Linked DNA regions of Homo sapiens: region 2 is linked to region 1. Evidence: promoter capture Hi-C in human tissues and cell types (Jung and others, 2019). All regions are on one chromosome and are shown on one strand. The core of a region is centred on a gene start or on the middle of the fragment in contact, and the rest is flanking DNA. Distances in the headings are between cores, read along the strand shown.

Region 1 (3,059 bases), core at 429-2,928:
GTGTGTGTGTGTGTGTATGTTAAACTAGTACTTTAGCCTACATCATTATTTTACCATGTAAGCATGATAGAATAGCAGGCTTTTTGGAGGGGAAAGATTTTAAAAGTACATGGTTACCTGTAATTACAGTCTTGCAAAGTTTGATTTTATAGAAGTGACATTCAAGTCTGATTTAAACCATGCAGAAAGACATGGTGCATATTGGAAATGCTTTTTCTTTCTGACTCAAATGGCTGTTTCGTTCTAGTGATCTCCCTAGAAGTCAGCCTTTTATTATGTTTATTGTAAGGTTGTGTGTCTTTCTAATTACGTGGCCCATCCTAGAAAACTTGCTACCTTGAGATTACCTTTCTATTTCTCCTTGCATTCCTGCAAACACCTAAACCTCTGTAGACAAGAGGTTCATCTCAGAGTCTGAACTGGCTGAGGATCATAAAATTCTGTCAAATACCTGGTCAATTAAGTTCTGGCTGGAAGAGGGGGTCAAATTAGATGACTGACATGTGCGGATAAGGGCACTGGTTTATTTCACATTTTAGCCTTTAATGTGGGTGGGTACACAAAGCCACAGAGTTTGTTGCCATACCCCAACATAAAAGCCTCTGGGACAAGGTTGAAAGGGTAGCGGGGAGAGGGCCTTGGATAGCGGATGGGGTGGTTAACCCGCGACTCTGGTGACATTTTGCCATCAGCCGCTGGTGACATCTTGCCATCAGCTGCAGCTACAGAATGTTGCTCGCAGGAGGAATTTGGCCTGCCGTTGAAGATGTGTTTCTCAGATGAGACTGTAAGGGGCCGGAGCTTGGGATTTTAGGAGTGCAGGGCCCACCTCTTCCTTGGTATCAAGCCACTTAACTAAACTCTTGCGGTGTCTTATGACCAGGGACGAAGTGCGGGGCCCCTTCAGACGTCGCAGCTGGAGTAACTGTTTTCTTTCCATTTCACAGCTCTTGAAGGAGGTGTGACTGAGTGAGGCGCTGGAAAGCTTGTTCTATAATTACTTCTTGATCCGCTTCTAGGCGTGCTGTGCATGCGTCCGACCATGTGTGTTTGCGTTAGCTTGCGCCGTCGACAAGAGCCAGAGAACGTGGGTCTAGGATAAAACGTGGATGATATTTTTGCTTCAAATGTCACATTTTACGGGGGTCTAAAGGTCTTAGGCTGGAGTCTTTGCGGATGATTGCCAACTGTAGCTGAATCTATGAGCTGGGATGTACCCAAGCCAGTGCAATCGCTCCAAATCAGGGCGGGCGGCACTAAGCCGGGGAGCAAACACCGCTCCCGGCCCGCCCAGAGCAGACGCCCTAGGTTGGGGCTGCAGCGAGTGCGCGCGTGGGCTGTGGAGCCGGCGGAGGCAGCGGTCCGGAATGGCTCTGTGGAGGCTGCGCTCTCTTCCTGGCCCCGCAGCCACAGCAGCTGCCCCATGCTCGCGCGGCAGGACCTACCAGGCGCCCACCCTGGGCTGCGCCGCCTCGGACCACCCGCTGCTCCCCTCCGCCCGCTGCCTCTTCTCCCCGCGCCTCACGGGGCTCCGCACTGACTCCAGGCGCCTCCGGGGGCGTCGCGCGCGCGGAGCGGCGCCGGGGGCGGGGCCTCGTGTAGGGCGCCCCGGGATTGGCTGTGGGGAGAGGGGGCGGGGCCGGCCGCGGAGAAAACAGCCGGCGCGCCGCGCGAGTGCAGTCTGGGTCTGGAGCCTGAGCCCTGCGGAACCTCGGCGCTCGGCCCCACCCCGCCCGTACCTGCACTTATTTATTGTTGTTATTTCTTACCGCGGAGCCCCGCAGTCGGGTCCTCCCGCCCGCTCCCGCGCAGCGCTAGCATTCTCCAGTCCCTCAGTCCCTTCCCGCGCGGTGCGCCGCAGCCGAGGCGATGCGCCTCATTCAGAACATGTGCACCATCGCCGAGTACCCCGCGCCGGGCAACGCCGCGGCCTCCGACTGCTGTGTGGGCGCCGCCGGCCGCCGCCTGGTCAAGATCGCCGTGGTGGGCGCCAGCGGCGTGGGCAAGACCGGTGAGTCGTCGCGCTTAGCCCTGGGTCTGGTCTTGGACGACCCCTGACGGGAGTTGAGGCTGAACAAGGCGTGGGGAGCGGTGGGAGCTGCAGCCCGACCGCTCTCCGTCCCCGCGCAGGGAGCCGCTGCCCCTTGGGAGTGGGCTTAGCCGTTGTCTACGCCACCCGCCTGCTTCCACAGACGGGGGAAACAAGGATCAAGAATGGCCAGGCAGCTTTCTGGGGACCACCGGCACCGCCGCCATCAGAACTTTGGGGTGTTTGAGCCTCTGGCAATGCCTGGCACAGAAAGGGGAGTTAGTGAAGCTAGCCCCCCTGGGAGGTCTTGAAGGTTAGGAAGACATGGGTCTACTGGAAGGCTTAGGTGTGGCTCAGCCGGGCTCAGAGGAGGGGGTGGGCCCAGTGAGCCTTCCAGCTGCACAGAGCCATAATTCACGATGCCTTCTAGCCCCCTCCTTTTTGTCTGGAAAGAAGGGTCAAGGAGCTACAGGGTAGGAATTTCACTTGGTGGCCATCTATGGCTTTCTTTGGGAGAACTGTTTTCCAGGCAGGGGGTGGGGTGGAGAACAATCTAACTTCCAAGGTTAACACTTTGACGTTCTTTTTTCTGACGTGCAGCACTGGTGGTCCGGTTCCTCACCAAACGATTCATCGGTGACTATGAAAGAAATGCAGGTGAGACAATGCATTTGAGAAAAATTCTGTCCCATTGCAGGAGGACTGCGGTTCCCATTTTCCAGCGCTTCCCAGGGAGGTTCTTTCAGTGACAGTCCGAGCCTGAGGATCCCGCCACTTAAAACTTTCCCCAGTCCCCAGCCCTCCATGGCGCCCCCCTCCCATAACTACCATCTGGCCTCATTCCATTCCAAGCCCATTCATCATTTTATCAAGTGCCTGAAAGTATTCCCCTTGGTATGTTTTAACTATAGTGACCCCAGTTGGAAGCACCCTTTGTAGTCAAGAACCTCTCCCTTCAAAACACTCCTGCAAAAGTCGTAAAAAAAAAAAAAAGGAGTCCCTAGCTCCTTCCCCCACCCCTCTCCTTCTC
Region 2 (3,023 bases), core at 88-2,587, 470 kb before region 1:
TCCATTGGCATTCAGATTTCCTTGCCATTTTTAACAACGTGGATAAACCTGGAGGACACTATCTAAGTGAAATAACCCAGGCACAGAAAGACAAATATTGCATGATCTCACTTATATGTGGAATCTTAAAAAGTCAAACTCTTCCAGGACATAGGCATGGGCAAGGACTTCATGTCTAAAACACCAAAAGCAATGGCAACAAAAGCCAAAATTGACAAATGGGATCTCATTAAACTAAAGAGCTTCTGCACAGCAAAAGAAACTACCATCAGAGTGAATCAGGCAACCTACAAAATGGGAGAAAATTTTCACAACCTACTCATCTGACAAAGGGCTAATATCCAGAATCTACAATGAACTCAAACAAGTTTACAAGAAAAAAACAAACAACCCCATCAAAAAGTGGGTGAAGGACATGAACAGACACTTCTCAAAAGAAGACATTTATGCAGCCAAAGAACACATGAAAAAATGCTCACCATTACTGGCTATCAGAGAAATGAAAATCAAAACCACAATGAGATACCATCTCACACCAGTTAGAATGGAAATCATTAAAAAGTCAGGAGACAACAGGTGCTGGAGAGGATGTAGAGAAATAGGAACACTTTTACACTGTTGGTGGGACCGTAAACTAGTTCAACCATTGTGGAAGTCAGTGTGGTGATTCCTCAGGGATCTAGAACTAGAAATACCATTTGACCCAGCCATCCCATTACTGGGTATATACCCAAAGGACTATAAATCATGCTGCTATAAAGATACATGCACACGTATGTTTATTGTGGCACTATTCACAATAGCAAAGACTTGGAACCAACCTGAATGTCCAACAATGATAGACTGGATTAATAAAATGTGGCACATATACACCATGGAATACTATGCAGCCATAAAAAATGATGAGTTCATGTCCTTTGTAGGGACATGGATGAAATTGGAAATCATCATTCTCAGTAAACTATCACAAGAACAAAAAACCAAACACCACATATTCTCACTCATAGGTGGGAATTGAACAATGAGAACACATGGACACAGGAAGGGGAACATCACACTTTGGGGACTGTTGTGGGGTAGGGGGAGGGGAGAGGGATAGCATTAGGAGATATACCTAATGCTAAACGACGAGTTAATGGGTGCAGCACACCAGCATGGCACATGTGTACATATGTTACTAACCTGCATATTGTGCACATGTACCCTAAAAGTTAAAGTATAATAATAATAAAATCAAATCAAATTAAATTTTAAAAAGTCAAACTCATGGCCGGGAGCGGTGTCTCACGCCTGCAATCCCAGCACTTTGGGAGGCGGAGTCGGGCGGATCACGAGGTCAGGAGCTAACACGGGGAAACCACGTCTCTACTAAAAATACAAAAAATTAGCCAGGCATGGTGGCAGGTGCCTGTAGTCCCAGCTACTCGGCAGGCTGAGGCAGGAGAATAGCTTGAACCCGGGAGGCGGAGCTTGCAGTGAGCCAAGATCGCGCTACTGCACTCCAGCTTGGGGGAGACAGAGTGAGACTCCGTCTCAAAAAAAAAAAAAGTCAAACTCATAGAAGCAGAGAGTAGAATAGTGGATGCCAGGGGCTGTGGAATGGCAGGAGGGGAGAAGATGGAGAGATAGTGGTCAAAGGGTACAAAGTTCAGTTAAGATCAATAGGTAGTTCTGGAAATCTAATACACAGCATAGTAACTAAAGTTAATAATGTACTTGAAAATTGCTGAAAGAGTAAATCTTAAATGTACTCACCACGAAGTATGACAAATATGTGAGGTGATAGATATGTTAATTCGCCAACCATTTCACAATGTATACATATATCAAAACATCACATTGGACACCATAAATATATAGTTTTTTGTCAATTATACCTTATTAAAGCTGGAGAATAATGAATAGATTTATTATTTTGAGATAATTTTAGATTCACTTGCAGTTGTAAAAAAAAATAATAACACAGAGGAACCCAATGTGCCCATTACAGTTTCTCCCAATGATAACATCTGTCTGTTTAACCATTCAGCCACTGAAGGACAGGTCCTCTAGGTTTATCCACGTAGTCACAAATGGCAGGGTTTTCTTTTTTAAGACTGAATAACATTTTGTAAAAAATATATTCATCCATCCATCCATGAACATTAGGTTAATTCCATTTGTGACTACTGTAAATAGCGCTGCAGGGAACATGGGAGTGCAGATATCTCTTGGACTTACCGATTTCATGTGTAAGCTGTGTTCCAGTTTGGGCTATTTCAAATAAAGGTGCTATAAATATTTGTGTACATGTGTCTGTATAAATGTAAGTCTTCATTTATCTTGGATAAAACGCCCAAAACTACAATTACTTCGTTGAATAGTAATTCTGTGTTTAATTCTTTTTGGAAACTCAAATTGTTTTCCAGAGTGGCATACCACTTTACATTCCTACCAGCAATGTATAAATGCTTCATTTTCTCTGCATCCTGTCCAGCATGTTATATTTTCACTATTTTTAATTTTAGTTATTCTGATAAGTGTGTGGTGATAGCTCATTGCGGTTTTAACTTGCATTTCTCTAAAAGCTAATGTTGTTCAGCATCTTTCCATGTGTTTATTTTCTGTCTGTATATCCACTTGGATGAAATATTTATGTCTTTTTCTTATTTTCTAATTAAACTGTTTGGGTTTTTTTTTGTTTTTTTTTTTTACTGTTGAATTATCAGAGTTCCTTGTATATTTGAAATACTAGCCTTTTCTTGAATATGTGGTTTGCAAACGTTTTTAGCTCATCTCCTCTACTTGATAGGGTCTTCCACAGAGCAAAAGTTTTTATTGATAAAGTCCAATTTATCAATTCTCCTTTTATGAATTATGCTTTTGGTCTTCCATCTAAGAACTCTTTGTAGCTCTAGATCCTGGAGGTTTTCTCCTATATTCTTTTTTTCTATAATTTTTATAGTTTTACATTTAAGCCCATGATCCATTTTGACATAATTTTTTTATAAGGTGTGAGACTTAGGTCAAGATTCACTTTTTTT

Evidence for each region. Contacts are between HindIII fragments. The study calls those that stand out against the background at their distance.
Region 2: a contact is called between a fragment that was not itself captured here and the fragment with the promoter of RASL11B in region 1, in 3 of the 25 tissues and cell types used here (IMR-90 fibroblasts, liver and mesenchymal stem cells).

Annotation. Positions count from the first base shown.
Region 1 is chr4:52,860,639-52,863,697 of GRCh38, forward strand. RASL11B (RAS like family 11 member B) reads left to right here and starts at 1,679. Exons shown (of 4, transcript NM_023940.3): 1 at 1,679-2,011; 2 at 2,630-2,686. The coding sequence starts at 1,870. LOC124900700 (a long non-coding RNA gene) reads right to left here and starts at 1,567. Exons shown (of 2, transcript XR_007058115.1): 1 at 1,446-1,567; 2 at 511-1,093. RefSeq lists silencers at 1,243-1,732, 1,704-1,998. The HindIII fragment of the contact is 6,378 bases long and covers 1-3,059 here.
Region 2 is chr4:52,394,056-52,397,078 of GRCh38, forward strand. No RefSeq gene overlaps it. Among named protein-coding and RNA genes, the nearest start is that of USP46, 260 kb to the right of the region's middle. The HindIII fragment of the contact is 4,012 bases long and covers 1-3,023 here.